7 separate regions of the Homo sapiens genome follow, and all the other regions are linked to region 2. The links are contacts of gene promoters, found by promoter capture Hi-C in blood cells and fetal thymus (Javierre and others, 2016). All regions are on one chromosome and are shown on one strand. The core of a region is centred on a gene start or on the middle of the fragment in contact, and the rest is flanking DNA. Distances in the headings are between cores, read along the strand shown. Region 1 overlaps EFCAB13 (EF-hand calcium binding domain 13). Region 2 holds the start of KPNB1 (karyopherin subunit beta 1). Region 3 overlaps CDK5RAP3 (CDK5 regulatory subunit associated protein 3). Region 4 overlaps ITGB3 (integrin subunit beta 3). Region 5 overlaps SP2 (Sp2 transcription factor). Region 6 overlaps PRR15L (proline rich 15 like). Region 7 overlaps EFCAB13-DT (EFCAB13 divergent transcript).

Evidence for each region. The method cuts DNA at HindIII sites, captures the fragments that hold promoters and counts their contacts. A CHiCAGO score of 5 or more calls a contact.
Region 1: a fragment that was not itself captured here is called in contact with the fragment with the promoter of KPNB1 in region 2 in 4 of 17 cell types (erythroblasts, total B cells, megakaryocytes and 1 more); the score reaches 8.3 in erythroblasts.
Region 3: a fragment that was not itself captured here is called in contact with the fragment with the promoter of KPNB1 in region 2 in 1 of 17 cell types (neutrophils); the score reaches 5.0 in neutrophils.
Region 4: a contact is called between a fragment that was not itself captured here and the fragment with the promoter of KPNB1 in region 2, in 1 of 17 cell types (erythroblasts). The highest score is 5.1, in erythroblasts.
Region 5: a fragment that was not itself captured here is called in contact with the fragment with the promoter of KPNB1 in region 2 in 1 of 17 cell types (neutrophils); the score reaches 5.2 in neutrophils.
Region 6: a fragment that was not itself captured here is called in contact with the fragment with the promoter of KPNB1 in region 2 in 1 of 17 cell types (neutrophils); the score reaches 5.1 in neutrophils.
Region 7: a fragment that was not itself captured here is called in contact with the fragment with the promoter of KPNB1 in region 2 in 4 of 17 cell types (erythroblasts, naive B cells, megakaryocytes and 1 more); the score reaches 10.5 in erythroblasts.

What each region holds. Positions count from the first base shown.
Region 1 is chr17:47,351,034-47,354,766 of GRCh38, reverse strand. The region is part of intron 9 of EFCAB13 (EF-hand calcium binding domain 13); the gene reads right to left. Among named protein-coding and RNA genes, the nearest start is that of EFCAB13, 29 kb to the right of the region's middle. The HindIII fragment of the contact is 191 bases long and covers 2,358-2,548 here.
Region 2 is chr17:47,647,594-47,651,570 of GRCh38, reverse strand. It overlaps KPNB1 (karyopherin subunit beta 1), which reads right to left and starts at 1,652. Exons shown (of 22, transcript NM_002265.6): 1 at 1,287-1,652; 2 at 1,127-1,185. The coding sequence starts at 1,326. KPNB1-DT (KPNB1 divergent transcript) reads left to right here and starts at 2,143. Exons shown (of 4, transcript NR_171700.1): 1 at 2,143-2,175. RefSeq lists silencers at 632-681, 982-1,121, 1,232-1,301, 1,732-1,911, 1,922-1,971 and 1 more and an enhancer at 2,652-3,497. The HindIII fragment of the contact is 6,441 bases long and covers 1-3,977 here.
Region 3 is chr17:47,974,363-47,978,266 of GRCh38, reverse strand. CDK5RAP3 (CDK5 regulatory subunit associated protein 3) reads right to left here. Exons shown (of 14, transcript NM_176096.3): 5 at 3,819-3,867; 6 at 2,930-3,108; 7 at 2,614-2,753; 8 at 2,254-2,398; 9 at 1,445-1,555; 10 at 357-435. Among named protein-coding and RNA genes, the nearest start is that of CDK5RAP3, 5.2 kb to the right of the region's middle. RefSeq lists an enhancer at 2,368-2,868. The HindIII fragment of the contact is 8,194 bases long and covers 1-3,904 here.
Region 4 is chr17:47,281,516-47,285,211 of GRCh38, reverse strand. ITGB3 (integrin subunit beta 3) reads right to left here. Exons shown (of 15, transcript NM_000212.3): 3 at 1,663-1,858; 4 at 517-769. Among named protein-coding and RNA genes, the nearest start is that of ITGB3, 30 kb to the right of the region's middle. The HindIII fragment of the contact is 5,999 bases long and covers 1-3,696 here.
Region 5 is chr17:47,923,085-47,926,954 of GRCh38, reverse strand. It overlaps SP2 (Sp2 transcription factor), which reads right to left. Exons shown (of 7, transcript NM_003110.6): 4 at 3,681-3,870; 5 at 1,862-2,036; 6 at 1,414-1,607. All of the region lies in intron 1 of SP2-AS1 (SP2 antisense RNA 1), which reads left to right. Among named protein-coding and RNA genes, the nearest start is that of SP2-AS1, 16 kb to the left of the region's middle. The HindIII fragment of the contact is 7,634 bases long and covers 1-3,870 here.
Region 6 is chr17:47,950,929-47,954,508 of GRCh38, reverse strand. It overlaps PRR15L (proline rich 15 like), which reads left to right. Exons shown (of 2, transcript NM_024320.4): 2 at 1,246-2,542. The coding sequence starts at 1,275. The coding sequence ends at 1,586. Among named protein-coding and RNA genes, the nearest start is that of PRR15L, 5.2 kb to the left of the region's middle. The HindIII fragment of the contact is 2,443 bases long and covers 116-2,558 here.
Region 7 is chr17:47,318,284-47,322,338 of GRCh38, reverse strand. It overlaps EFCAB13-DT (EFCAB13 divergent transcript), which reads left to right. Exons shown (of 3, transcript NR_110880.1): 2 at 3,719-3,867. Among named protein-coding and RNA genes, the nearest start is that of EFCAB13-DT, 3.6 kb to the left of the region's middle. The HindIII fragment of the contact is 6,957 bases long and covers 1-4,055 here.

The DNA of each region.
Region 1 (3,733 bases), core at 1,204-3,703, 300 kb after region 2:
CTTAAGGACTCACTCACATAAACCTAAGGTAAAGGGGTGGAAAAAGATACACCATGCAAATGGACACCAAAAGCAAGCAGGAGTAGCTATTCTTGTATCAGACAAAACAAACTTAAAGCAATAGCAGTTTAAAAAGGCAAAGAGGGACATTATATAATAATAGGACTAGTCCAACAGGAAAATATCGTAATCCTAAACATATATGCACCTAACACTGGAGCTCCCAAATTTATAAAACAGTTACTACTAGACCTAAGAAATGAGACAGACAGCAACAGTAGTAGGGGGCTTCAATACTCAACTGACAGCATTAGACAGGTCATCAAGACAGAAAGTCAACAAAGAAACAATGGACTTAAACTATACTCTAAAAAAAATTGATCTAACAGAAATTTACAGAACATTCTACCCAATAAATGCAGACTATGAATTCTATTCATCAGCACATGGAACATCCTCCAAGATAGACCATATGGTAGGCCACAAAACAAGCCTCAACAAATTTAAGAAAATTAAAATTACAGCAAGTACTCTTGCTACAGTGAAATAAACTGGAAATCAACTCCAAAAGGAACCCTCAAAACTATGCAAATACAGGGAAATTAAATAATCTGCTCCTGAATAATCACTGGGTCAACAATGAAATCAAGATGGAAATTTAAAAAATCTTTGAACTGAACAATAATAGTGACACAACCTATCAAAACCTCTGGGATACAGCAAAAGCAGTATTAAGAGGAAAGTTAATAGCATAAAATGACTACATCAAAAAGTCTGAAAGAGCACAAATTGGCAATCTAAGGTCACACCTCAAGGTACTAGAGAAACAAGAACAAACCAAACCCAAACCCAGCAGAAGAAAAGAAATAACCAAGATCAGAGAAGAACTACATGAAACTGAAACAAGAAAAAAAATGTAAGTCAAAAACCAAGTAGATAAAAGAGAACCAGGAAAATCCTAATGCCATGGAGTCTATCAAAATGCCAAAAAGAAAAAGCAAGCCAAGCATCATATCTATATTGTTCACTGCTGCATATATAGGCATATTAATGTTTATTACATAAATGAGTAAATAAGTATTGAAGAGTTTTTATTGCCCTTTACTTGCTAATCCAGTTCTATAAAGACTATCACATTCACATATCCTTGATTCTAACAAAATAAAATCTGGGCTGGGTGCAGTGGCTCACACCTGTAATTCCAACACTTTGGGAGACCAAGGCAGGCGGATCACTTGAGGTCAGGAGTTCGACATCAGCCTGGCCAACATGGTAAAACCCCATCTCTACTAAAAATACAAAAATTTAGCCAGGCATGGTGGTGCATGCCTGTAGTACCAGTTACTTGGGAGGCTGAGGCAGGAGAATCCCTTGAACCCGGGAGGCAGAGGTTGCAGTGAGCCAAGATTGTGTCACTGCACTCCAGCCTGCATGACACAGCAAGACTCCATCTCAAAAAATAAAAAAAAATAATAAATAAATAAATAAATATACAATCTGATTCACTATAAAAGGAACATACCTCAAAATAATAAAGGCCATACATGACAAACCCACAGCCAACATCCTACTGAATGGGGAAATGTTTAAAGCATTCCTCCTAAGAACCAAAACAAAACAAGGATGCCTACTTTCACCACTCCTATTGAATATATTACTGGAAGCCCTAGCCAGAGCAATCAGGCAAGAGAAAAAAAAGTAACAGGCATCCAAGTTGGAAAAGAGGAAGTCAAATTATGTCTGTTTGTTGATGATATAATCTTATACTGAGAAAACCCTAAAGACTCCTCCCAAAAAACCCTGAGATTTGATAAACAAATTTGGTAATGTTTAAGTAGATAAAATCAACATACAAAAATCGGTGGCATTTCTATACACTAGTATCAAGCTGAGAACCAATCAAGAAGGCAATGCCATTTAGCTTAGCTACAAAAAACAAAGTACCTAGGAATACATTTAACCAAAGAGGTGAAAGATCTCTACAAGGAAAACTACAAAACAGTGATGAAATAAACTATAGAGAACACAAACAAATGGAAAAACATCCCATGCTCATGGATCAAAAACTTAATATCATTAAAATGACCATACTGCCCAAAGCAATCTACAGATTCAGTGCAATCTCCATCAAAATACCAATGTCATTTTTCACAGAAATAGAAAAAATAATCTTAAAATTTACATGGAACTAAAGGAGCCCAAATAGCCAATGTAATCCTAAACAAAAGAACAAAGCTGGAGACATCACATTACCTGACATCAAATTATACTATAATAGTAACCAAAACAGCATGGTACTGCTATAAAAGTAGAAACATAAATCAGTGGAACAGAAAACAGAACCCAGAAATGAAGCTTCATATCTATAGCCACCTGATCTTTGACAAAGTTGACAAAAACATACACTGGTGAAAGGACACTCTTTTCAATAAATGGTAAAGGGAAAATTGGATTGCCATTCACAGAAGAATGAAACTGGACCCCTATCTCCCACCATATACAAAATCAACTCAAGATGGATATAAACTTAAATGTAATACTTGAAGCTTTAAGAATACTAGATGAGGCCGGGCGTGGTGGCTCGCGCCTGTAATCCCAGCACTTTGGGAGGCCGAGGTGGGAGGATCATGAGGTCAGGAGATCGAGACCATCCTGGCTAACACGGTGAAACCCCGTCTCTACTAAAAATACAAAAAAATTAGCCAGGCGTGGTGGCGGGCACCTGTAGTCCCAGCTACATGGGAGGCTGAGGCAGGAGAATGGTGTGAACCCAGGAGGCAGAGCTTGCAGTGAGCCAAGATCGCACCACTGCACTCCAGCCTGGACAACAGAGCGAGACTCCATCTAAAAAAAAAAAAAAAAAAAAACTACATGAAAACCCAAGGAAAACTCTTACTGACATTGGTCTAGGCAAAGAATTCATGACTAAGAACTCGAAAGCACAAGCAACAACAACAAAAAAAGACAAATGAGACAACTAAACTAAAAAGCTTCTGCACAGCAAAAGAAATAATCAACAGAATGAACAGACAACTTGAAGAATAGGAGAAAATATTTGCAAACTATGCATCCAACAAGGACTGATATCCAGAATGTACCAAGAACTCAAACAGATCAAAGACAACAAAAGCAACAAATAATCCTGTTAAAAAGTGGGCAAATGACATGAATAGACATTTTTCAAAAGAAGATATATAAATGGCCAAACGAGCATTATGAAAAAATGGAAAGCAGTGTGGAGATTTCTCAAAGAACTAAAAATAGAACTACTGTATGATCCAACAATTCCACTACTAGGTATATATGCCCAAAGGAAAAGAAACCATTATCTCAAAAAGATACCTACACTCATATGTTTATCACAGCACAATCCACAATAGCAAAGACATAAAATCAACCTAAGTGTCCATCAATGGATGACTGGATAAAGAAAACGTGGCGCGCGCGCGCGCGCGCGCGCGCACACACACACACACACACACACACAGTGGAATACTAGTCAGCCACAGAAAAGAATGAAATAACATATTTTACAGCAACATGGATGAAACTATTAACTATCTGACTTTCTGTTTCTGACTTGTTTCACTTAAGATAATGAAAGCCATTTATAGGTAGGAGCCAAATTTATAGGTGGGAGCCAAATGTGTACACATGGACATAGAGCATGAAATAATAGTTACTGGAGACTTGGAAGTGTGGGAAGGGGGTGAAGGATGAAAAATTACTTAAT
Region 2 (3,977 bases), core at 403-2,902:
TAGTGGAAAAATCTCTTCTAGGAAAGGATAAACAGGTTAGTTGTAAAAATTGGCACATATGAAAAACAACAAAAAAATCATTCAAAGGCAGTCTGTATAAAATAAGCCTTGTCACTTTGTTGATGTTGACATTTTGCCTATATAACACAAAGGAACACATATGGTTAGTGTTACTCAGACTTAATTCCTATTACCTTTCTCAAAGATGTCAAGCATCATCCAATCCTTCCCTCTGACCCCATCCCCCAACAGGAGATGGACACCAAAGAGAAACTTAACTGGCATCTAGGCTGTTTCAACCAATCCATCCCACATTTTTATACAAAGGACCAGTCTCTAGCGGACTTAGCTTCATTTTCTCCGGACCCCTTAAATTTTAAAATATGAAAAACGAGGAACTTTCCCCTGTGATTTCATCAGCAAACAGGCCCCATCTCAAAGATGAGCCTCAGTCTGTTTTCTGGGTGCAGATCCCTAGTGATTAGGTCTCTATTCATCCAGGTCAGAAGAAAAAAAAAAAAGAAAGAAAGAAAAAGAAAAAACCCCAAGAGAGGAATAACCGAGCAAAGAGGGAAAAATATCAGTGGAAATGGGTTAAGAGGCAGTCGGGTGCCAGGCCTGGCCATGAGTACAGACCAAGGTAGCTAGGAAAGGGCAGAGCTCTAGGAAATAGGTGGGGAGAGCCACAGGGGCCACGGGATAGGAAGGAGAAGCCGGCCGGGGTCAGACAGGGCGGGCGGCCGGGCCCGGAGCTTCCACATGGCCCCTAGGCCCGACTCCCCCGCCCCCACCCCTGCTGAACACGCAGCGCCGCGCAACCTAACTTCCCTTCCCTCCCTCTTTCTCCCTCCCGCTGCACCGCCGCCCTCAGGCCGCGCAACGATTGGGCGGCAGGCAGCTCGGCGCGCCAAGCCATTGGCCAGTCGCGAGGCCCGGGGCGGGACACACCCACCGGCTTCCCGATGGCGGGGTTAGGTTGGACCGGGTTGGGGGGGGAGGGGGAGGGGGGAGGGGGACGGGATGGGGCGGGGTAGGTTCCCGAGGCCTGGGCCTCCGGGAGGGCGGGAAGGCCCCGCACGCAGGGGATGGGGACGCGGCGGGATGGGCGCGGCGGGGTAGCACGCACCAGGTTCTCCACGGCCGCACGCTCCAGGAACTTCTGCGCCGCTTCCAGCTCCAGCCGATCTAGGGGGAGGAAAGTGGGAGACGGAGCGGGGTCAGAGGGGCCGGGCCTCCCCTCCCCCACCCCAATCACCTCAGCCCTACCCCCGGCTCCTGCGTCCTACCGGGAGACACGGTCTTCTCGAGAATGGTGATCAGCTCCATGGCGGAGGTGGCGGCGGCGGCGACTCCTCCTAAGACGACGGCCCGGCCTTTCGGGCGGCGGCTCGAACTGGGGATGGGGGTTGGGGGTCGGGTGGGAAGGGAGGGTGGGGTGGGGGGCGGGGGTCACCACAAACCCATTCACCGGCTCTGTCTGGGTAGTCGGTCCGGCTCCCCTTCCTCTCCTCTTCCCTTACTTCCTCCCTCCAAATGGGCTGCTGGCGGCGGGGGAGGGACCCTGGGGGCAGCTCAGAGCGCGCTGGTGCTCGGGAGGCGGAGGGAGAAAGAAGGAAGGGAGGCTGTGAGTGAGAGGCGGCGCGCAGGGAGGGAGCGAGGGAGGGAGGAAGGCGGAGGGATATTCGGACCGGACCTCTCCGCGGAGGCGCCGCGCTCCACGACGATTGGCCGTTGTCCTGGCCACGCGGAATCCCTAACTGGCCAGGCGCTCAGCGTCGAAGGGCCGTCTCGCGCCCATTCGCCTGCTGGTTTCAAGGCCCGGGTTGGCTGGGCGGGCAGCGGAATGGAGCGCGCGGATTGGCCGAGGGGAGGGAGATTGGGATGGGGTAGGAGAGAGCCCGCCGTTGATTGGGTGGGCTTGGTAAAGGCCTTGAGCTCAGACCGGCTGAGCGCTGGGAGGAGGGTGGACCGGAGGCACGACTCGGATCCTGCGCGATTGGCTGGGATAGTAGGCGTTGATAGGATAGGGTGCCCGGGAGAACTAAGGAGAGGAGTTCGGGGTCGGGGCGCGGGAAGGCGGGAGGTGCCCGGCAACCCTAGGAGCCCGGCGCGGGGCACGATGGGACGCCCCCGGGAAGAGGCGGAGCTGGGTTCGAGCGCTGGGGCTGCGGTTGGGTAAGCGCCGTCGCTCCGAGGGGCGTGTTGCGCGAGGTTTTCGCGGGCCTGAGCGGGGGAGGGGGGACTGTTGAAGTCCTGCGCCGCGCCCACAGGAAGCTGCTTTAATGGCTAGGTCGGCTTGGTACCCTGCTTTCGGCTGGGAGGGATCCGTAAGGCCATGTGGCTCCACTGCCAATGTGTAGATGTGGAAACTGAAGCCCAGAGAGGGTATGGAACTTGTCCAAGGTCACACAGCTGGTTAATGGCTTGGTAAGGAATGGGTTCAGGAGCCCAGAGAGGGTCTGGAACTTGTCCAAGGTCACACAGCTGGTTAGTGGCTTGATAAGCTCAAGCTCTCCTGACGGCCCTTGTCCCTACAAGCAGCTTCCTCTCCAAGGAGTCCCCTAAGCCTGCTTATATGGGGCTTGAGACCTGTGCTGTGATAAATCTGACTTGCTTAGGGGTGAGCTAAGGGATTCCTCCTCTTAGACCCCCCATCCATAGCTACCAGGTACTTGACAGGATGGAAATGTTTCACCCTCCAAAAGTACCCTGTAAAGGCCCAACCTCGAACCAGAAAGAATGTGTGTACAGGAATAAAGGATTGTGGTTCTTAACCTGTTTCAGTTCTCAACCCCGGAAGAAACTCATGAATGCCTTTTCTTAGCAAAATGCATATAAAGAAAACGTGGGCCGGGCGCTGTGGCTCGCGCCTGTAATCCCAGCACTTTGGGAGGCCGAGGGGGGCGGATGACGAGTCAAGAGATCGAGACCATCCTGGCCAACATGGTGAAACCCCGTCTCTACTAAAATATAAAAAATTAGCCCGGTGTGGTGGCGCGTACCTGAAGTCCAAGCTATTCCTGAGGCTGAGGCAGGAGAATCGCTTGAACCCTGGACGCAGAGGTTGCAGTGAGCCGATATCGCGCCACTGCAGTCCAGCCTGGCGACAGAGCGAGACTCCATCTCAAAGAAAAGAAAAAAAATGTGCATACAGTATGTGGCTCAGGCCTGCAATCCCAGGACTTTGGGAGGATCGCTTGAGCCCAGGGGTTCAAGACTAACCTGGACAACTTAGCGAGATCCTGTCTCTTTTAAAAAAAATGAAGATTTTTAAAATGATAAAGGAAAAGTGTAATAATAGGGCCGGGCGCGGTGGCTCATGCCTGTAATCCCAGCACTTTGGGAGGCCGAGGCGGGCGGATCACTTGAGGTCAGGAGTTCAAGACCAGTCTGGCCAACATGGTGAAACCCTGTCTCTACTAAAAATACAAAAAAAAAAAAAAAACCTAGCCGAGCGTGGTGGCGCACGCCTATAATCTCAGCTCCTCAGGAGGCTGAGACAGAATCTCTTGAACCCGGGAGGCAGAGGTTGCAGTGAGCCAAGACTTCACCACTGCACTTCAGCCTGGGCGACAGTTAAGACTCTCAAAAAAAGAAAAAATAAATGGTAACAAAGAATTTCTTGAATTGTTTCATTTTCACAGTAATGATGTAGGGGTAATTGGATGTAGCTGGTTCATAGAGCTTTTTACCATATGACTTGAGCTTGTGAGGTAATTGCCCTGCAGTAGCCACACTGGGAAAACCTAGGAGGAAGTCTGACTTTGTTGAAAGGTTTCACAAAGAATTAGGAAAGATTGGCCAACTCTTTGTTAAAAGAGGAAGAAATGGTCTTTCTCTGCTAGAGATATCTTTGCAGTTTTGAAGCTAGAAATGTAGGGACACCATTCCTCACACCATACTGTGACTAGTGGATTTCCCATGGCTTAGCAGCTAACCCCAGCCTTTTGCTTCATCTATTAACTGTGGAAGAACTG
Region 3 (3,904 bases), core at 368-2,867, 330 kb before region 2:
AAACCCCAACTCTACTAAAAAAATATAAAATTAGCTGTGCGTGGTGGTGCATGCCTGTAATCCCAGCTACTCGGGAGGCTGAGGCAGGAGAATAGCTTGAACCCAGGAGGTGGAGGTTGCAGCGAGCTGAGATCATGCCATTGCACTCCAGCCTGGGCAACAAGAGCGAAACTCCGTCTCCAAAAAAAAAAAAAAAACCTCTCTTGGTCCCCCTCAGCTCACATCCTCATCAAGGTTTTGAGAAACAGTTAAATGTGCAAGAAGCCTCATCTTAGCGCTGCATTTTTTGTTTCTAGACACGTGGGGGCCCTTGAGCACCCCACTTTTGCCAGGGCTGCAGGGGATGGTGCACTTACCCTGGGTTCCTGCTTCCAGCACTGTGATCTGCAAAGCAACAGCATCGTCTCCCCAGTCTATCCCATCACCTCCAGGATCCTGGAAGGAGAGCAAAGAACCACAGCAATGGGGGGAGAATTTTCCTGAGCCAAGGAGCCAGAATAAACCAAAGCCCTTGATGAGGTCAATGGCTGCACATTCCAACTCTATTAAGGATTTGCAGCCCTGACTTAGGTGCCAAAAATGGCAGTATGGCCCATCATCCCTGCTCTGTAGTGTTCCCACCTGCCTTTACCCCTACACCCTGTACCAAACACCAAGAAAAAGGACATCAAAATTTAACTCTCACATGGGCTGGGCGCAGTGGCTCACGCTTGTAATCCCAGCACCTCAGGAGGCCGAGGCAGGTGGATCACCTGAGGTCAGGAGTTACCAGCATGGCCAACACGGCGAAACCCTGTCTCTATTAAAAATACAAAAATTAGCCGGGCGCGGTGGCTCACGCCTGTAATCCCAGCACTTTGGGAGGCTGAGGCGGGCGGATCACGAGGTCAGGAGATCGAGACCATCTGGCTAACATGGTGAAACCCCATCTCTACTAAAAATACAAAACAATTAGCCGGGCGTGGTGGCGGGCGCCTGTAGTCCCAGCTACTCAGGAGGCTGAGGCAGGAGAATGGCGTGAACCCGGGAGGCAGAGGTTGCAGTGAGCCAAGATGATGCCACTGCACTCCAGCCTGGGCGACAGAGTGAGACTCTGTCTCAACAAACAAACAAACAAAATAAAAAATTAGAGGGGTGTGGTGGTGGGCGCCTATAATCACAGCTACTTGGGAGGCTGAGGCAGGAGAATCACTTGAACCTGGGAGGCGGAAGTTGCAGTGAGCCGAGATTGCACCACTGCACTCCAGCCTGGGCGACAGAATGAGACTCTGTCTCAAAAAACAAAACAAAACTCTGACATGTGACGTGTGAAACTCTGCCTCCCTTGGACTATACCTGGTCTTAGAGCTATGAACTTCAAGTGATGCCGTTACAGACACAAATGACACTTTTCTTATGGTTAGAGTAGTGATCAGAGAGAGACAGACTGAGAAGGCCTCCTCACCTTTGAATCTGATTCCGGGAAGATGCCCCAGTCGATTCCAGCAGCCTCGGCAGAGATGCCAGAGTCAGTCCCCTCAGACACTGCCTCTACCCCAAAGTCGCCCCAGTCAATCTGGAAAGGGAAAGAGAGTGTTAGCTCATGGAAGATGGATTTAAAAAGGGCCGGGCATGGTGGCTCATGTCTGTAACCCCAGTACTTTGGGAGGCCGAGGATAGTGGATTGCTTGAGCCCAGGAGTTTGAGACCAGCCTGGGCAATATGGCAAAATCCTGTCCCTACAAAGATGTTAATAAAAAATTAGCTAGGAGTGGTGGTGCAAACCTGTAATCCCAGCTATCTTGGAGGCTGACTTGGGAGGATCGCTTGAGGCTGAGAGGCAGAGGTTGCAGTCAGCAAGGATCATGCCACTGCACTCCAGCCTGGGCAACAGAGCAAGGCCCAGTCTCAAAAATAAATTAATTTAAAAAGGAGGGTGGGGCTGCCTTCCCACAGGCCTCAGCTGCTTCTGTAGAGAGCACACTGTTCAAATGCAGTGGCCTCTAAGCTACCCCAAAGAAAGCCCATCTTCAGAGAGCTCACATGATGGAGGTTCCGAGTTCAAAGCGAACCACCTTGCAAAGCCTCTGTGGCACTCACTCACCTATACTCAGAAAAATAAAGGAGTAGGGCCTCCTGGGCCCTTCTACCTACAGTCACTCTCACAGAAATCCTCCCTTCTTCTCTCTGGGTCTTGGGTTGGGCTGTTGGGGGTGGGGAGGGGACAAGCAGCTCCCACTCCACTCCTACAGCTCATCACAAGGCCCATCTTACCGCATCTTCTGCCACCTGCTCAGGAAGCTCCTCGAGGTGGGGTCGTTCCACCACAGAGGGCTCTGTCCCTGTCCTCCACTCGTACACCGTTGAGTTTCCCCGCTTCTGCACGAACCGCAGCATTGGCAACACCTGCTCTGTGGGGCTTCAACAGAGCACACAACTGACTCTCCTGCCGACCATGCGTAAGGCCAACACTGGGCTTTGGCCTGGGCCACATGGTCAAATGGGCAAGGCCCCCACAGGTTCAGGTGTGTAAAGAGTTCAAATGTTATATGGGAACAAGACAACTGGAGAAGGGTCATGAGCTGGGGAACACAGGCAAAGCACCCCCACCAGGAGAAGCTGAGGCCTCTCTACCTCTCACACACAAACCCCACAGACGCCTGGTACACGTCAATGGCTTCCCCCAGGGACTGCTGAGCCGCTGCCCCAATCTCAGCCAGCTGACTCGGCAGGTCCTTCACCAGGGCCAGCAGTTCTCCTCGGACATTTTCGCCCTAGAGAGGGGAGAAGAGGTGGAGTCCAACAGATTGAAGAAAACATCCAAAGACCGAAGAAAAGTAAGACACTGGCCCAAAGGGGGTGCAACCAGGCTGAGGGGTCAGACGGGGTCAGAGGAAGACAAGCAGGGGCCCAGGTGTCCTCTGGCTGCGAAGAGGCTGCCGCCGCTCACCGTGATGCCATACTGCTTGCAGGAGTGGTAGAACTGCTCCCGCATCTCGGCAGCCCCTGCCTGGCACTCCTCCTCCTTGCGGCTGTATTCTTGCTGCAGCTGCTGGCACTTGGCAATCTGCTTCTTCAGTGAGGGGATCTCATAGTTGACATTCCGAACCAGGAGGCTAGAGAGTTCCACTGAGAAGTGCCCAGGAAATTCAGCCCAGGACACCCCCACATGAGGCAGGCATGCCCCAGGATGCACACACATCCTTTGTGGTGGTGAAGAGCACGAAGTCAGCTTCCCAGCCCCACTTGTTCCCAGCTGTGGAGCCTAAGACAAGTTGTTTAACCCCTCTAATCCAACCCTCATCGGTAAAACAGCGACAATAACATTTATCATGAAGATGCAAGAGAGAATCCACATGACACACCAAGCACAATTCCTTGCATTTAGTAGATGCTCAGGAAATATTAGCCATTATTATTATTTATACTACACCCAACCCAAACACAGTTAGTCCTGTAGTTGCTCTCAGGCACTTGATATTCGCTCCCAGAAAAACCCGTGCCTCTTCTGCCTTGTGTAGAATGGGGGTGCGGGGGTGGGGGTGGGGGCAGCACACTCCCGCTAACCAAGAGGTGAGTGGTGGAGGACCCACACACACCTGCTCGCTGAGGCACGGCGAATGGCCACTACCGGCCTGGACCTCCTCCTTCCCCCAGCACTCCACTCAGGGAAAATCAATTCCATCAAAAACAATTGATTTTACCACCTACAAATGGGCAACATCTACACTCCAGTCTCTTCCCACTCACAGACTGTGCCTCCTATAAGCCTGGTATCTCAGAACTCTGAGAGTGGGCTTCCCCATGGATACCAGGGCTCCCAGGCCGGGCCACTTTACCTAAGTAGGTGTTGTCCTTCTCATACAGAGCTATAATCTCCTGCCAATCCTGAGTAAGAACAGAAAAACAATGTTAAGCCAGAAAA
Region 4 (3,696 bases), core at 59-2,558, 370 kb after region 2:
GTTTTAAGCCAAAGTGTCAAACAGAGGCACAAGTTATCCATTTACAGACTATAAAAGTGTCCAACAAATGTCATTTCCACTCTTTTATATTCCTTAGCACTTCATTTCTTCTGTTTTCACCCTGCAGGATGCACGGCCTTGATGAAGACAATAATGCCAACAATGGAATCGATCCTTCTGTAATCGTAATTTCTCGGTTTCCTTATCCATAAATTTCTTTCTACTTTTGACGTCATTTCCCTCCCATTCTCTCTTGCCTTCTATTTATTTGTTACCAAGACTGAGAAGCTGATGAATTTTCTTTCTAGGTTCTCCAAACAGCCTTAGGCTCCATTGACACAACACTCCAGATCCACAAGCTAGCCCATTTGCCAAACAGGGAGACCAAGGTAGAAAGGAGCTATAGTTTGGCAAGAAGACAGCCAACAAAGTGATCCTAGAGCTAGAAATAGGAACCAGGACTTGGACCTTCCTGGGGCAAAGGATGCTGTCCTGGCGTCTGGAGGAGGGACTTACTCATAGCAGGGGTTTTCGAGGGCCTCTGGTGGGGAGATATACATGTATGGTGACACAGGCTTGTCCACAAATGCCCCGAAGCCAATCCGCAGGTTACTGGTGAGCTTTCGCATCTGGGTGGCCAGCTTGGTACCCAGGTTCTGGATGCTCCACAGATCATCCTTCATGGAGTAAGACAGGTCCATCAAGTAGTAGATGTCCACAGGGTAATCCTCCACCTGCCGCACTTGGATGGAGAAATTCTTCGAATCATCTGGAAGGCAGAAAGATGTTAGTTTTTATCTTCTTCTCCCACCAAGATTGAATAAGCAGATTTGGATACAGTTGGGACTAAGAAATTGCATGATCAAAGCAAACCAGAAAGCCCTGGTCCCTTTTCCTCTTCCTTTGCAATTCTATTACTCTTCTAATCTCTTGACCCTCCTATTTTTAACCTCTTCTTTTCCATTCTAAAATTTTCCACTTTCTCTAAATCCCAGGGGATTTCTAATCCTGTGAGTTCCACGGGTCTATCACTGTGAGTCACAGAGATTTTGATAGTTACTACACTTCAGACTCTGTAAAAGACAGAAACTGCACCCTACCCTTCTCTGAATCCCATTGCATCCAACACATGCCTTGATAGTAGGTAAATCCTTCTTGACTTAGTTGGAAAGTCAAAATCAATGCTTCAAAATTTCTGTCTTTAGTCTAACCCTTCCTCCCTCTAAAGGTCTTGTGTACCTATTGTGTCTGCCCCCATTCCCCTGTCCCAATTCCCCATGAAAGGGGGGCTTACAAGTCGCTTTCTTGTTCTATATCTCATTTGCACCTCAACACAAAGCTCTAAGCTAGGTAAAACAGGCACTTGGGTAAAGAAGAAACAAATATTTTTTGAGCACCTACTATGTCTGAAGGGTTAAGTAACTTGTCCAAGGTCAAATAGCTAATATATGATACAGTAAAGATTCACCTCAGATCTTCTGACTCAAGTCCTAACGTCTCTTATTTTCTTCCATTCTCTTGCCCACACCTCCCCCCTCATCCTTGTCTTCCCACCCCATTTCCATTCTGAGCTACTTCCCCAAGACTTCCTCCTCAGACCTCCACCTTGTGCTCTATGCCCACCTGCTTCAGGTCTCTCCCCGCAAAGAGTCCCAGCCCTACCTGGCCGGAGCCGGAGTGCAATCCTCTGGGGACTGACTTGAGTGACCTGGGAGCTGTCTCCAGAGCCCTTGTCGCTGAGGGGCCTGTCCTCTAGTACTCGGGCCTCACTCACTGGGAACTCGATGGATTCTGGGGCACAGTTATCCTTCAGCAGATTCTCCTTCAGGTCACAGCGAGGTGAGCCCAGAGGCAGGGCCTGTAAGACAGGAGCCCAAAGAGAAGTCCAGCAATCAGAGCTATGGCGACTCTCTACCTCCTGCAGGCCCTACCACTTCCCAATAGCTAAGAGTTTACCCCGTACATTGGAGCATAAACAAATTGTTGTGGTCTTTCCTGGGATAATCCCTTAGGACCGTTGTACAGAAAGGGGAAATTGATACTTTGGGAGGCCAAGGCATGAGGACTGCTTGAGGCCAAGAGTTCAAGACCAGCCTAGGCAACATAGCTAGACCCCGTCTCTACCAAAAAAAAAAAAAGGAAAAAGAAAAGAGAAATTGAGATATCAAGAAGGCCTATTCATGGAGTTGTAGCTAGAAGGAGAGCCTGTACAGTAAGATGCCTGGTAGACCAGCATTTTTTAACTGTGGAATACCACACATTTGTGGGTCCCAAAATCAATTTAGCAGGTGTCAACCATCATTTTGTTAAATAAAATACAATAGAATAGAATAGAAAATATGAAAGTGTACAAATAGTCAAAGGGTTGTTTTGTGAAATTCTTATATTGTTGGAGGAGAGTGGAGAATAACACATATAATAAATAACTATACCCAGTACAGTGTGTTTCTTTCTGTAGGTCAGAGTCAAAACAGTTTGGAAGCTACTGTATTTGACACGGGCTAGACTGTGAGATCCATGTAGTCAGGGACTGTGTGTGTCTTGGCCCCTCTCATTTCCCAGCATCCGACCTAGGACTTACCACAAATGTGATAGGGAAAGGCAGTGTAAGGAGGCAGGAGAGAGTCAGGGCTAAGAGCACAGGAGTAAATCTCAGCATTGCACTTACAACTGCTTACTAAGGCAAGTCACCTAATTCCTCCAAGCCTAGTTTCCTCAGCTGTAACACGAACATAATAACAGTCCCTCCTTCAGTACTTAACAGCAATCAAAATCATAGAGTCAAAAAGTAGAATAGTAGTTTCCAGGGACTGGGAGGAATAGAGAATTACTGTTTTGATGGGTACAGAGTTTTAGTTTTACAAGATGAAAAGAGTTAAGGAGATAGATGGTGGTGAGGGGTTTCATGACATTATGAATGTACTTCATGCCACTGAACTGTATGCTTAAAAATGGTTAAGATGGGCCAGGCACAGTTGCTTATGCCTGTAATCCTAGCACTTTGGGAGGCTGAGGTGGGCAGATCACCTGAGGTCAGGAGTTCGATACCAGCCTGGCCAACCTAGTGAAACCCCGTCTCTACTGAAAATACAAAAATTAGCCAGGTGTGGTGGCGTGCACCTGTAGTCCCAGCTACTTGGGAGACGGAGGCAGGAGAATCGCTTAAACCTGGGAGGTGGAGGTTGCAGCAAGCCAAGATCGTGCCACTCCACTCCAGCCTGGGTGACAGAGCAAGACTTGATCTCACAAAACAAAACAAAATGGTTAAGATGGTAAATTCTATGTTATGTATATTTTCCCACAATAAAAGTTACTTAAAATAATAGTAATTATGGTACCTCCCTCACAGGGATGTCACACAGGCTAAATAAGACAATCCACATAAAATGCATTGGACAGCACCTGGCACAGAGGAAGTCCTCAGCAAATGTAAGCTATTACTATGAGATGCTTGACAAGTACTTCCTGGATAAGCTAATTATGAATAAACTCCACAAACTTGGGAACATGGGCCAGGCACCTAACCAGAGCCCATCCTATCACTTCAGTGTCCTCCTTCACCCTGAACAAAGAACAAATTGAGTACCCTTCCAAAAACCCACGGCCCCCTGGGGCTCTGGGTGCTTAAACCTGAGTATTGAAGGGGACCACGCCACCCTGGAAAGAACACTGAAAATCAGGAAAGAAGATCAATCC
Region 5 (3,870 bases), core at 177-2,676, 280 kb before region 2:
GAGTAGGACCTGTCCCACCACACTGGCCAGGAGCCGGAGCTCTGGGTCACGCTTCCCTCAGCCCTCTAGCCCCAGGACAGGTGTCTGCTCACTGTGGGCATTCACTATAGCACTGTTTGCCAAAGTGTATGTGTGGACCACTGTGGATACCCAGGACAATTTCAGGTGGTAGATGTATAATCCTTTTTTTTTTTTAAGAGATGGGCTCCCGCTATATTGCCCTGGCTGGTCTCGAACTCCTAGGCTCAAGTGATCACCTGCCTCAGCCTCCCAAAGAGCTGGGATTACAGGTGTGAGCCACTGTGCCCAGCTTGGATCAATATTTTTAATAGTTTTGCATTGATTTGCTAGTACCTAAAACTATAACTGTGATATCTCACTTTGGGAGGCAGAAGAGGGAGGATCATCTGAGTCCAGGAGTTTGAGACCAGGCTGGGCAACACAGTAAGACCCTGTCTCTAAAAAAATTTTAAAATTAGCCAGGTGTGGTGGTGCATGCCTGTAGTCCCAGCTACTCAGGAGGTTGAGGTGGGAGAATCACTTGAGCCCAGGAGTTCAACACTACAGTGAGCCAAGATTGTGCCACTGCACTCTAGCCTGGGTGAAAGAGTGAGACCCTGTCTTAAAAAAAAAAAAAAACAAAAAGCCATGGCAGGGCCTGGGTGTGAACCTGGCCGCACCAGTCACTAGCTGTGTGACTGGGCCAGCTCTCCATGCCTCAGTAAAATGGGCATCAACAGGCCGGCGCAGTGGCTCACGCCTCTATTCCTAGCACTTTGGGAGGCCAAGGTGGGTGGATTACCTGAGGTCAGGGGTTCGAGACCAGCCTGGCCAACATGGTGAAACCCCGTCTCTACTAAAAATACAAAAATTAGCTGGGTGTGGTGGTGGGTGCCTGTAGTCCCAGCTACTTGAGAAGCTGAGGCAGGAGAATTGCTTGAACCCAAGGGGTGGAGGCTGCAGTGAGCTGAGATCGCACCACTTCACTCCAGCCTGGGCAAAAGAACGAAACTCCATCTCCAAAAAAAAAAAAAAAAAAAAAAAAAAAAGGCATAAACAAAGTATCTTCCCATAAAGTTCTTACCAGGATCAACTGAGGTAATCAGTAAAGTGCTTAGTACTGTGCTTGGCATACCATGTCAGTGTTTGTTAAATAACTATGCTGACATGGCAAAAGTTATCAGGTTGTGTCATGCAATGACAACTATTCCTTTCCCATTACTTGGGGAAACAACAGTGATAACAGAATGGCTTGAAAATAATTTCCTATGTCGTCCCTAGATAGTCTGTAGCTTTTGCTCAGTGTGGCAGTTCCAGGAGTGTCAATGTTGCTAAAGCCGGTAGAGTGGGGGTGGGAGGAGAGGCAGGAATTTGACCTCTGTGGGTGGAGGGTCCCGAAGGCAGGGGGCTGACCTGTGTGGGTGCGAGCATGCCGTTGGAGCTCGTCACTCCGTGTGAACCTCTTCCCACAGAAGAACCAGTTGCAGACAAAGGGCCGCTCGCCAGTGTGCAGGCGCACATGGGCACGCAGCAAGGACGTCTTACGGAACGTCTTGCCACAGTCGGGGATGTGGCACACGTGCTTCTTCTTGCCCTGCTCTCCAGACCTGAGAATTGGGGTGAGGGTGGAGTGGAGGGAATAGGAAGAGGAGAGAAAAGCGGTAGAGGATGGGGCAGGAACAGGATGCAGTGAGGATGTGGGGTCAGGTCAGAGAGCACAAGGAGGCAGGGGGCAAGGTGGCACAGAGCTGCCAGCTCTTCCTTGCCTGGTCTGTGCCAGCTTGCAGCTCTGGACAACTGTCCAGGAGGGGCTTGGGGAACACAGGCCAGCCTTGTGGCTTGGGCCTTCTCCTTGAATTACCTCTTCTCCCCATCCTTGCAGTTGGGACACGTGCAGGCCATGCGGCGCCGCTTCTCCCCGGGCTGGGTCTCTCCGGCCAGGGCTTGTTCCATTTGCAGCTGGATCTGGGTGGGGCTCAGCCCACTGATGGTCAGGTTGTTCCCAGAAACATTCTGCACTGTCAGCTGCTGCTGCCCTGTGGGGACAAAGAGGGGCAGAGTTCAGGGTGAGGAAGCCTGAAACCTCGAGTCAACCCTTCTGCCCTTCTGCACATGACAAAGATGATAATCACAGCAGCTATTTTTGAGAGCCTGCTGTATGTTGGATATCATTTTAAGGACCTTTGTACAGGGACTCATTTAATCTCCATGACCCTATAAAATAGGTACTATCATCAGCACTTTACAGATGAAGAAACTGAGGCTCAATAACATATCAAGATCACACAGCTAGTAAGTGGTAGAACCCAGATCTGAACCCAGGAAGCCCATTTCAAAGTCAGTGCCCTGAACCACTGTACTATGTAGGCAGAATTTGCTTTAGAATATTGCCAACATGATTTCAGCTGGGAAGGGTCTTAAGACATTTCTTCCTGAATCTCCTCCAACCTTAGGCCCCTGTGAGATACCAACTCTGCTTTTAGGAAAGTCTCCAGGGATTTCTGTTAAAAAGACAAGAGGTCACAGGCTAGGTACAGTGGCTCATAGCTGTAATCCCAGCACTCTGGCAGGCAGGACAATTGCTTGGGCCCAGGAGTTCAAGACCAGCCTGGGCATATAGGGAGACCCCCATCTCTACAAAAAACTAAAAAATTGGCCGGGCATGGTGCTACATGCCTGTAGTCCCAGCTACTCAGGAAGAAGAAGTAGGAGGACTGCTTGAGCCCAGGAGGCTGAGGCTGCATTGTCATGATCGTGCCACTGCACTTCAGCCTGGATGACAGAGCGAGGCCCTGAGGCCATGTCTTAAAAAAAAAAAAACCAAAAAACACAAAAGAGGACACAGTTCTATGGGCTTTGGGAAAAATCAGATCCTCTAGGATGCCTTATCCTCTTGGGGGTCACCTCAAGAGGGAAAAGCAAATGTGTTAAAGTGCTAAACATTCATTAAGGATGGGCTGGGCACGGTGGCTCACACCTGTAATCCCAGCATTTTGGGAGGCTGAGGCGGATGGATCACCAGGTCAGGAGTTCAAGACCAGCCTGGCCAAGACGGTGAAACCCCATCTCTACGAAAAATACAAAAATTAGTCGGGCGTGGTGGTGGGCGTCTATAATCCCAGCTACTCGGGAGGCTGAAGCAGAGATCGCACCACTGCACTCCAGCCTGGGCGACAGAGTGAGGCTCTGTCTCAAAAAAAAAATTCATTAAGGATGAAGAGAAATTCAGAGAGCTCCCCCTACATAAGGAGCCATTTTTGCTAGGTTGCTCCAATTTTTCCTTTGGTTATTTGCAAGGCTGGTTTCACAGCATAAATCTCACCACTGAACTGAAGTGCAGCACAAACTATTCTGACTGCCAGGGCTCCCTTCTTTTCTTCCAACCTTAACGCAAGGCTTTCTCCTTCAAGAAGCCGTCTTTGCGTTTGGATGTCAGTTGGAAAGTTTTCCGAGTACATCTATCTTCTCTGTCTTCAGCTGTCAGATGGGGACATGTGCCTTAAACTATCTCTGAGTGCTATTGTAAGGACTAGGTGAGAAGCTGCAGGTGGACGTACCCTTAAGCTATGATGGACAGCATCCTCACTATTGTTACTGGAAATCCCGGGGCCAGCCCATAGTTTCCACCTGCTAGGAGCAGGTACCACTGCCAACACCCTGGCCACAGGGGCCATCCTCACCGCCTGTGTTGGTGATGGTGACAGGCACGCCCTGGACCTGGACACCATTGATGTTGATGGTCTGCATTGCCTGGGCAGCTGCCGCCAACTGGGCTGCATTCAGGCTGATGATGCTCCCGGCTGGGGCAATCTTTGGCAGGGGACGCTCTTTTCGGAGAATTGCAGCTGAGTGCTTTTTGCTGGTCCCACT
Region 6 (3,580 bases), core at 88-2,587, 300 kb before region 2:
CCCCACCCTGCAAGGTACAACCTGTGATGACCATGTCTCCCCTGTACTTCTGGGATCCTTCTAACTGCTTTCTGCCTTTTTAGCTCCCCTTCCAACTCCTGTCCTTGTGGAAGCTTGGTGGGGAAAGGGAACCATCCCTTAGTAATTATTCCCATTATCGTAAGTTTTACTTTGCAATGCATGGTTACCTCTGTGGGCAGGGATTAACAGTAGAGCTAAATGCTAGTGCTGGATGGGATGGGTGAGGAAACTGAGGCCCAGAGAGGTGGTGGCTTGCCAGTGGTCATGAGGCTAGGACAGCCCCCAGGACTTCCCACTCCCAGCCTGAGGATCTGACTCCTGCCTTAGGAACAGCCCAGCAGTTACTTTAGCCCTGCTGGTCACCACTGGGAAGTTCAAATTGCTTGGAATGCCACTAATTATATTTAATTTTGTAATGAATTCCAAGCAAAATGCACAGGGTGTTTCCCTCCCTATGCTACCAGTCAATGGTCTGCCCATGCCTGGCAGCAGGGTCTGGTGGTATAGTGGGAAGTTTGGGAAGAGCATCAAAGGCCTGGATGCTGTGTGACTCAGGCAAGCTGTCCACCTGCCTGTGGCCCTGAGGGGCCTGGCAGGAATTATCTCAAAGCTCCTGACAACCCTGCAGGGCAATGGTGTGTGCCTGTCCCACTGCCTCTCTGTCTGGCGAGTGGCTTCCCTGTCTTGACCTTGACTTTGACCCTTTTCTTGTCTCACACTCTCCAAAAGCATTGTGTCACCCCACTGACCTGAATCTTGGGTTTATTCAGCCCTACCTTAAATTCTTTCTTTAATTCTTCTTCTTCTTCTTCTTTCTTTTTTTTTTTTTTTGAGATAGTCTCACTCTGTCACCCAGGCCGGAGTGCAGTGGCATGATCTCAGCTCACTGCAACCTCTGCCTCCCGGGTTCAAGTGGTTTTCCTGCCTCAGCCACCCGAGTAGCTGGGATTACAGGTGCGTGCCACTACGCCCAGCTAATTTTTGTATTTTTAGTAGAGCCGGGATTTCACCATGTTGGCCAGGCCTGTCTTGAACTCCTGGCCTTAGGTGATCCACCTGCCTTGGCCTCCCAAAGTGCCGGGATTATAGGCATGAAGAACCACGCCCAGCCCTTTATTTAATTCTTAAAACAGCCCATGATTAGGAGTCTGCAGCAAGCTGGTCCAAAGGCACCCACCCCCTTTTCCCACTGACCCCTTTGTCTCCCCCACCCTGCTCCAGCAGAAAGCCCCATCCTTGGCTTAGGGAGCGCCATGACGACTGAAATTGGTTGGTGGAAGCTGACTTTCCTCCGGAAAAAGAAATCCACTCCCAAAGTGCTGTATGAGATCCCTGACACCTATGCCCAAACAGAGGGAGATGCAGAACCCCCGAGGCCTGACGCTGGAGGCCCCAACAGCGACTTTAACACCCGCCTGGAGAAGATTGTGGACAAGAGCACAAAGGGCAAGCACGTCAAGGTCTCCAACTCAGGACGCTTCAAGGAGAAGAAGAAAGTGAGAGCCACGCTGGCAGAGAACCCTAACCTCTTTGATGATCACGAGGAAGGACGGTCATCAAAGTGAAGGGCTGAGGAGGGTGCTAGCACCTCTTGGCTCCCTGCCATCAGCCAGATCTGAGACAGGACCTTGCCACGCTGGCCTCTTTGGCCATAGCTGAAGCTGTGGGGCCAGTTGATACCTGCTGGCAGGAAATGGCTGTTTTTTAGGTTTGTATTTATGTGCCGCCACTTTTGTAAGGCCTGGGAGATCCCAGGGTCCTCCACCCTCCCCCTGACCACATACAAAGGCACTCTAGTTCAAGAGTGAAAAGTCTCACCCAGGAGGAACAGCCCTCCTTGAAGCAATGGCAGGGCCAGCAGGGAGGTGGGCATGGCAGGGAATGGAGAGAGTGAGCCAGACAGACTTCACCTCCTTACTGGACACAGGGTCAAGGGCGAGTTTCAATTGCTGCTCCCTTTACTTTCTCTACCTGTGACTACTCCCTGGACCAATCCTGAGGAGGGCACATTTTCCAGAAGCCACGTGATAGGGGCTGGTTTCTGTGGAGCCAGAGGCAGAGACACTGAACTTGAGCTCACCTCCTAACACCGGCAGTAAACTTCCTGGAACTTTGCCCTCAGGTGCGGAGGGGACAGAGGACCCTGGCACTCTGTTAGGGTGCTGTAGAAGACTAGATTGATGGTAGTTTGGCCTGTTAGTTCCTGTTTTGGCCATGACTTTTGCAGATGGCAAGTCACACACCCTCAAAGGGAAGCTACACGGGCCAAATCGGGGGAGTGGGTGGGGAATTTTCTCCTCTCCCTTTCCTACTATAATAGTATTTAAGACATATCAGCTCCAGAGATGAGTCCTGGAGCCTTGAATTTTGTTTAACAAAATAATTGTAGGTTTCTCTCTGTAATAACAACGCTGGAAAGGCAGAGAACCTCTTTTATGCTCATGTCTTGCATTTATTGAGATGACTGTTTCTCATGCCTTTATGTTCCTTCATGTAAGTAAAGTGGACCTTTGTGCTCAAACTGTTCCTTTCAAGCTTCAGGAAGGGTTCCCAGGTGTGACAATGTAGGAACTGGGTCACTAATTTTTACCATCAAACTAGCCTTAGTATGGGGATGGGGCAGCAGAAGGAGCTAGTTACACCTCAGTGGTCAGTTCTCTCCAGTCAACAGAGAGCCCGTCAGGTGCTCTAAGAGAGTAGGGCAGACCTTTGGTGATTGACCCCAAAGTTTCAGTGGTTTGGTTTGGGATTAAGATTCAAACTCGGGCTCTACCCCTTAGTAGCTGGGTGACCTTGGGAACATTTGCTTGTACTCTGAGCCTCAGTTTCCTCTTCTGTAAAAGGGGGCTGAAATAATACCTATCTCATAGGGAGTGGTCAGTATTAAGTGGCCTATGAGAGGTCCCATAGTAAGTGCTCAGTTTAATACTGGTTTCCTTCCCCCTTCCTTTATAAGGAACTCCACCATACCCCACAGCTTTGGTTTAAGAAAAAGGAGAAGGTGGGTATAGTGGCTCAGGCCTGTAATCCTAGCACTTTGGGGGCTGAGGTGGGAGGACTGCTTGAGCCCAGGAGTTTGAGACCAGCCTAGGCAACATAGAGAGACCCCATGTCTAAAAAAAAACCAACCAACAAACAAAAAGTAGCTGACTGTGGTGGCACATGCCTGTAGTCCTATCTACTTGGGAGGCTGAGGTGGGAGGGTTGCTTGAGTCCAGGAGTTCAAGACGACAGTGAGCCATGATTGTGGCACTGCACTACCACCTGGGTGACAGAACTAGGTCTTATCTCTAGGGGAAAAAAAAAATTAATAAATAAGAGATGCTTGGCACGGTGGCTCATGCCTGTAATCCCAGCACTTTGGGAGGCTGAGGCAGGCAGATCACCTGAGGTTGGGAGTTCAAGACCAGCCTGGCCAACATGGAGAAACCCCGTCTCTACTAAAAATACAAAATTAGCCAAGTGTGGTGGCACATACCTGTAATCCCAGCTACTTGGAAGGCTGAGGCAGGAGAATTGCTTGAACCCAGGAGGCCGAGGTTGCGGTGAGCCGAGATAG
Region 7 (4,055 bases), core at 1,556-4,055, 330 kb after region 2:
GTTTTCCATAATGGCTGTAATAACACTAACAGTGTAAAAGGTTTCTCCACATCCTCAGCAACACATTTTTTTCATCATTTTGATAATAGCAATTCTTTTTTTTTTTTTTTTTTTTTTTTTTTGAGATTGAGTCACTCTGTTGCCCAGGCTGGAGTGCAGTGGCACAATCTCAAATCACTGCAACCTCCATTCCTGGGTTCAAGCAATCTTCCTGCCTCAGCCTCCCAAGTAGCTGGGATTACAAGCATGTGCCACCACACTTGGCTAATTTCTGTATTTTTAGTAGAGATGGCGTTTCACCATGTTGGCCAGGGTGGTCTCAAACGCCTGACCCTCAAGTAATCTGCCCACCTCAGCCTCCCAAAGTACTGAGATTACAGGTGTGAGCCACCACACCCAGCTTAATAGCCATGCTAACAGGTGTGAGGTGATATTGTAATCTTATTTTGCATTTCCCTAATAATAGTGATTTTTTTTTTCGCAAACCTGTTGGCCATTTGTATGTCTTCTTTTAAGAATGGCTGTGTCAGGCTGGGCATGGTGGCTCACACCCATAATCTCAGCACTTTGGGAGGCCAAGGTGGGAGGACCGCTTGAGCCCAAGAATCTGAGACCAGCCTGGGCAACATAGTGAAGCCTCATCTCTACAAAAAAAAATTTTTTTTAAAAGTCTATTCAGATTATTTGTCTATTTTTAAAATCAGGTTATTTGCTTTCTTGCTACTGAGTTTCTTGTATATCTTGGATATTAACCTCTTGTCAGATGTATAATTAGTAAATATTTTCTCCCATTCAGCAGGTTGTCTCTTCACTCTGTTAACTGTTTCCTTTGATGTGCAGAAGTTTTTAGTTTCATGTAATTCCATGTGTTTATTTTTTGTTTTCTCGCCTGTGTTCTTGAGGTCATGTCCAAAAAAATGCCCAGACCAATGTAGTGGAGCTTTCCGCCTGTTTTCTTCTAGTGGCTTTCTTCTATTTTTTCTTCTAGTAGCTTTCCCTCTATGTTTTCTTCTAGTAGTTCCAGTCTTACAGGTAAGTCTTTAATCCATTTTGACTTTTGTATACGGTGTGAGATAAGGGTCCAATTTCATTTTTCTACACATGGATATATGGTTTCCCAACAGTTTTTATCAAAGAGATTCCTTTCCCCATTGAGTGTTCTTGGCTCCTTATCAAAATTCAATTGTCTGTAAATTCTGGACTCTCTAGTATGTTCTATTGGCCAATGCATCTGTTTTTATGGAATACCATGCTGTTTTGATTACTGTAACTTTGTCGTTTATTTTAAAGTCAGGGACTGTGATGCCTTCAACTTTGTTTTTTTTTTGCTTTTTTTTTTTTGAGATGGATTCTGGCTCTGTCTCTCAGGCTGGAGTGCAGTGGCACAATCTCGGCTCACTGCAACCTCCACCTCCTGGGTTCAAGTGATTTTCCTGCCTTAGCCTCCCAAGTAGCTGGGACTAGAGGCGCGCACCACCACGCCTGGCTAATTTTTTTGTATTATTAGTAGAGACGGGGTTTTTTTTTTACCATGTTGGCCAGGCTGGTCTTGAACTCCTGATCTCATGATCTGCCCGCCTCGGCCTCCCAAAGTACTGGGATTACAGGCGTGAGCCACCACACCTGGCCCAACTTTGTTCTTTTTGCTCAAGATTGCTTTGGTTATTTGGGATCTTTTACGGTTCCATATGAATTTTAGGATTTTTTTATTTCCATGAAAAATAACTCTGGAATTTTGATAGGAATTGCATTGAATCTATAGATCACTTTGAGTAGCATGGGCATTTTAATTATATTAATTATTCCACTCCAAGAACATGGGATGTCTTTTCGTTTATTTGTGTTTTTTCCAATTTCTTTCATCAGTGTTTTTTAGTTTTTAGTATAAAGATCTTTCACTTTCTTGGTTAAATTTACACCTTTTTTGTTTCAGTTTTGGTTTTTGCTAATATAAGTAGAATTATTTTCTTAATTTCTTTTTTGGATTTGTTGTTGGCCTCTAGAAATGCTGCTGATTTTTGTGTGTTGACTGTGTACAGCAATTTTACTGACTTTATTAGTTCTAACAGTTTTTTGGTGGAGTCTTTTGGGTTTTCTATATATAAGATCATATTGTCAACAAAGAGAAAATTCCAATGCTTCCTTTCCTATTAAGATGCCTTTTATTTCTCTTGCTTAATTATTCTGACTAGAACTTCCAGTGCTATGTTGAAAAAAAAAAAAGCAGTAAGAGTGGGCATCCTTTTCTTGTTCCTGATCTTAAAGGAAATGCCTTCAACTTTTCACTGTTGAGAATGTTAGCTGTAGGCTTATCATATATGACCTTTATTGTGTTGAGGTACGTTCCTTCTATACCTAATTTGTTGAGAATTTTCATCATGAAAGGATGTTTAATTTCATCAAATGCTTTTTATGTATCTATTGAAATGATCATATGATTTTTGTTTATGTGGTGTATCACATTTATAGATTCCCATATGTTGAACCATACTTGCATCCCAGGGATAAATCCCACTAGATCATGGTGAATTATTCTTTGAATGTATTGTTGAAGTCAGTATGCTAGTATTTTGTTGAGGATTTTTGTATCTATACTCATTAGGGATATGACCTGTAATTCTTTAGTGCTTTTTAAATGTATATAGTTTATCTCCCCAAAGATTCTGAAATATCTGAGTGCTGAGACCATGTCTTTTATTTTTGTAAATACCCCTCAATCCACCCTCCATCACCCGCTTTCCCACTCCCCACGCCTGTTGTGTTTAAGGATGGTACCTCGGAGTACTGTTCAATCAGGCAAAGACTCTCTAAAGATTTTAAGAGTGGCTGGGTGCAGTGGTTCACGCCTGTAATCCCAACACTTTGAGAGGCCGAGGTGGGTGGATCACCTGAGGTCAGGAGTTGGAGACCAGCCTGGCCAACATGGTGAAACCTCATCTCTACAAAAATACAAAAAAATTAGCCGAGCGTGGTGGCGGGTGCCTGTAATCCCAGCTACTCAGGAGGCTGAGGCTGGAGAATTGCTTGAACCCGGGAGGCGGAGATTGCAGTGACCCAAGATCTCGCCACTGCACTCCAGCCTCGGTGACAGAGTAAGACTCCGTCTCAGAAAAAAGATTTTAAGAGTATGGCTCACAGGTCCTCTCATTCAAACAATAGGGCTTCTAAGAAACTTAAGGTCTTTGTCCTTCAGCAGAAGCCCAAGGTAGAAAAAGACATATCTCAAAGGTATTTGCTGCCATGGCTTTTGTCTCCTGGACTAAAACCCAGTAAGATTCACAGTAGATTCAAAAATTGTTTTAAGAGAATTGTATTGTCAGAAATACTGTCAGCTTGAGCTGAAAAAGAGTACAAAAAGGAAAGGGGCCTTTGGACCCTTTCTACAAACGCATTTCTACAAACAGGAAGCAGGCTAAGAAAACTATTTAGGTCCAAACACATCTCCCTTTCACACAAAAAAGGATGACTTAGAGGATAAAACCAAGAGCCCAGAAGGTGGAACCAAAAGCCATAGGGAGTTATTCCCAGGCTTTGAGTGTAGAACTGCAAACCTGTACTCAAATGGATTTCAGAATTGCTATGAACCAGTGACTTCTGTGCACCTTGGTTTCCACCTGTTGGAACAGGAGTGTCTATAGCAGTTATCTCCCTGCCCCTGCTGTTTTACATTGGTTGCTGTGGGGAAAGGAGCATATGACCTTTTTCTTTTTGTTCGCAGAACTTCAGATTGAAAAGCATGTACTTGAGTAGCTGTATTTAAGGAATTACACCCAAGAAGTCTCATCTTCCCTGGACTTACGTAGAGGATAAGATTCTGAACTTTGAATTGATGCTATAATGGGATAAGACTTTGGGGCCTTAGAAGGGGTAAGTTTATTTTGCATGTGGGAGAACTATAAATAATTTGTGACCAGAGGGTTGCCTGAGGTAGTCTTAAAATATGTCCACAAACACTTTGATATTTGTATTCATTTCCTATGCTGTGGTAACAAATTACCACAAACTTAGTGGCTTAAATAGCACAAATTTATCATCCCAAGTTTCTGGAGGCCAGA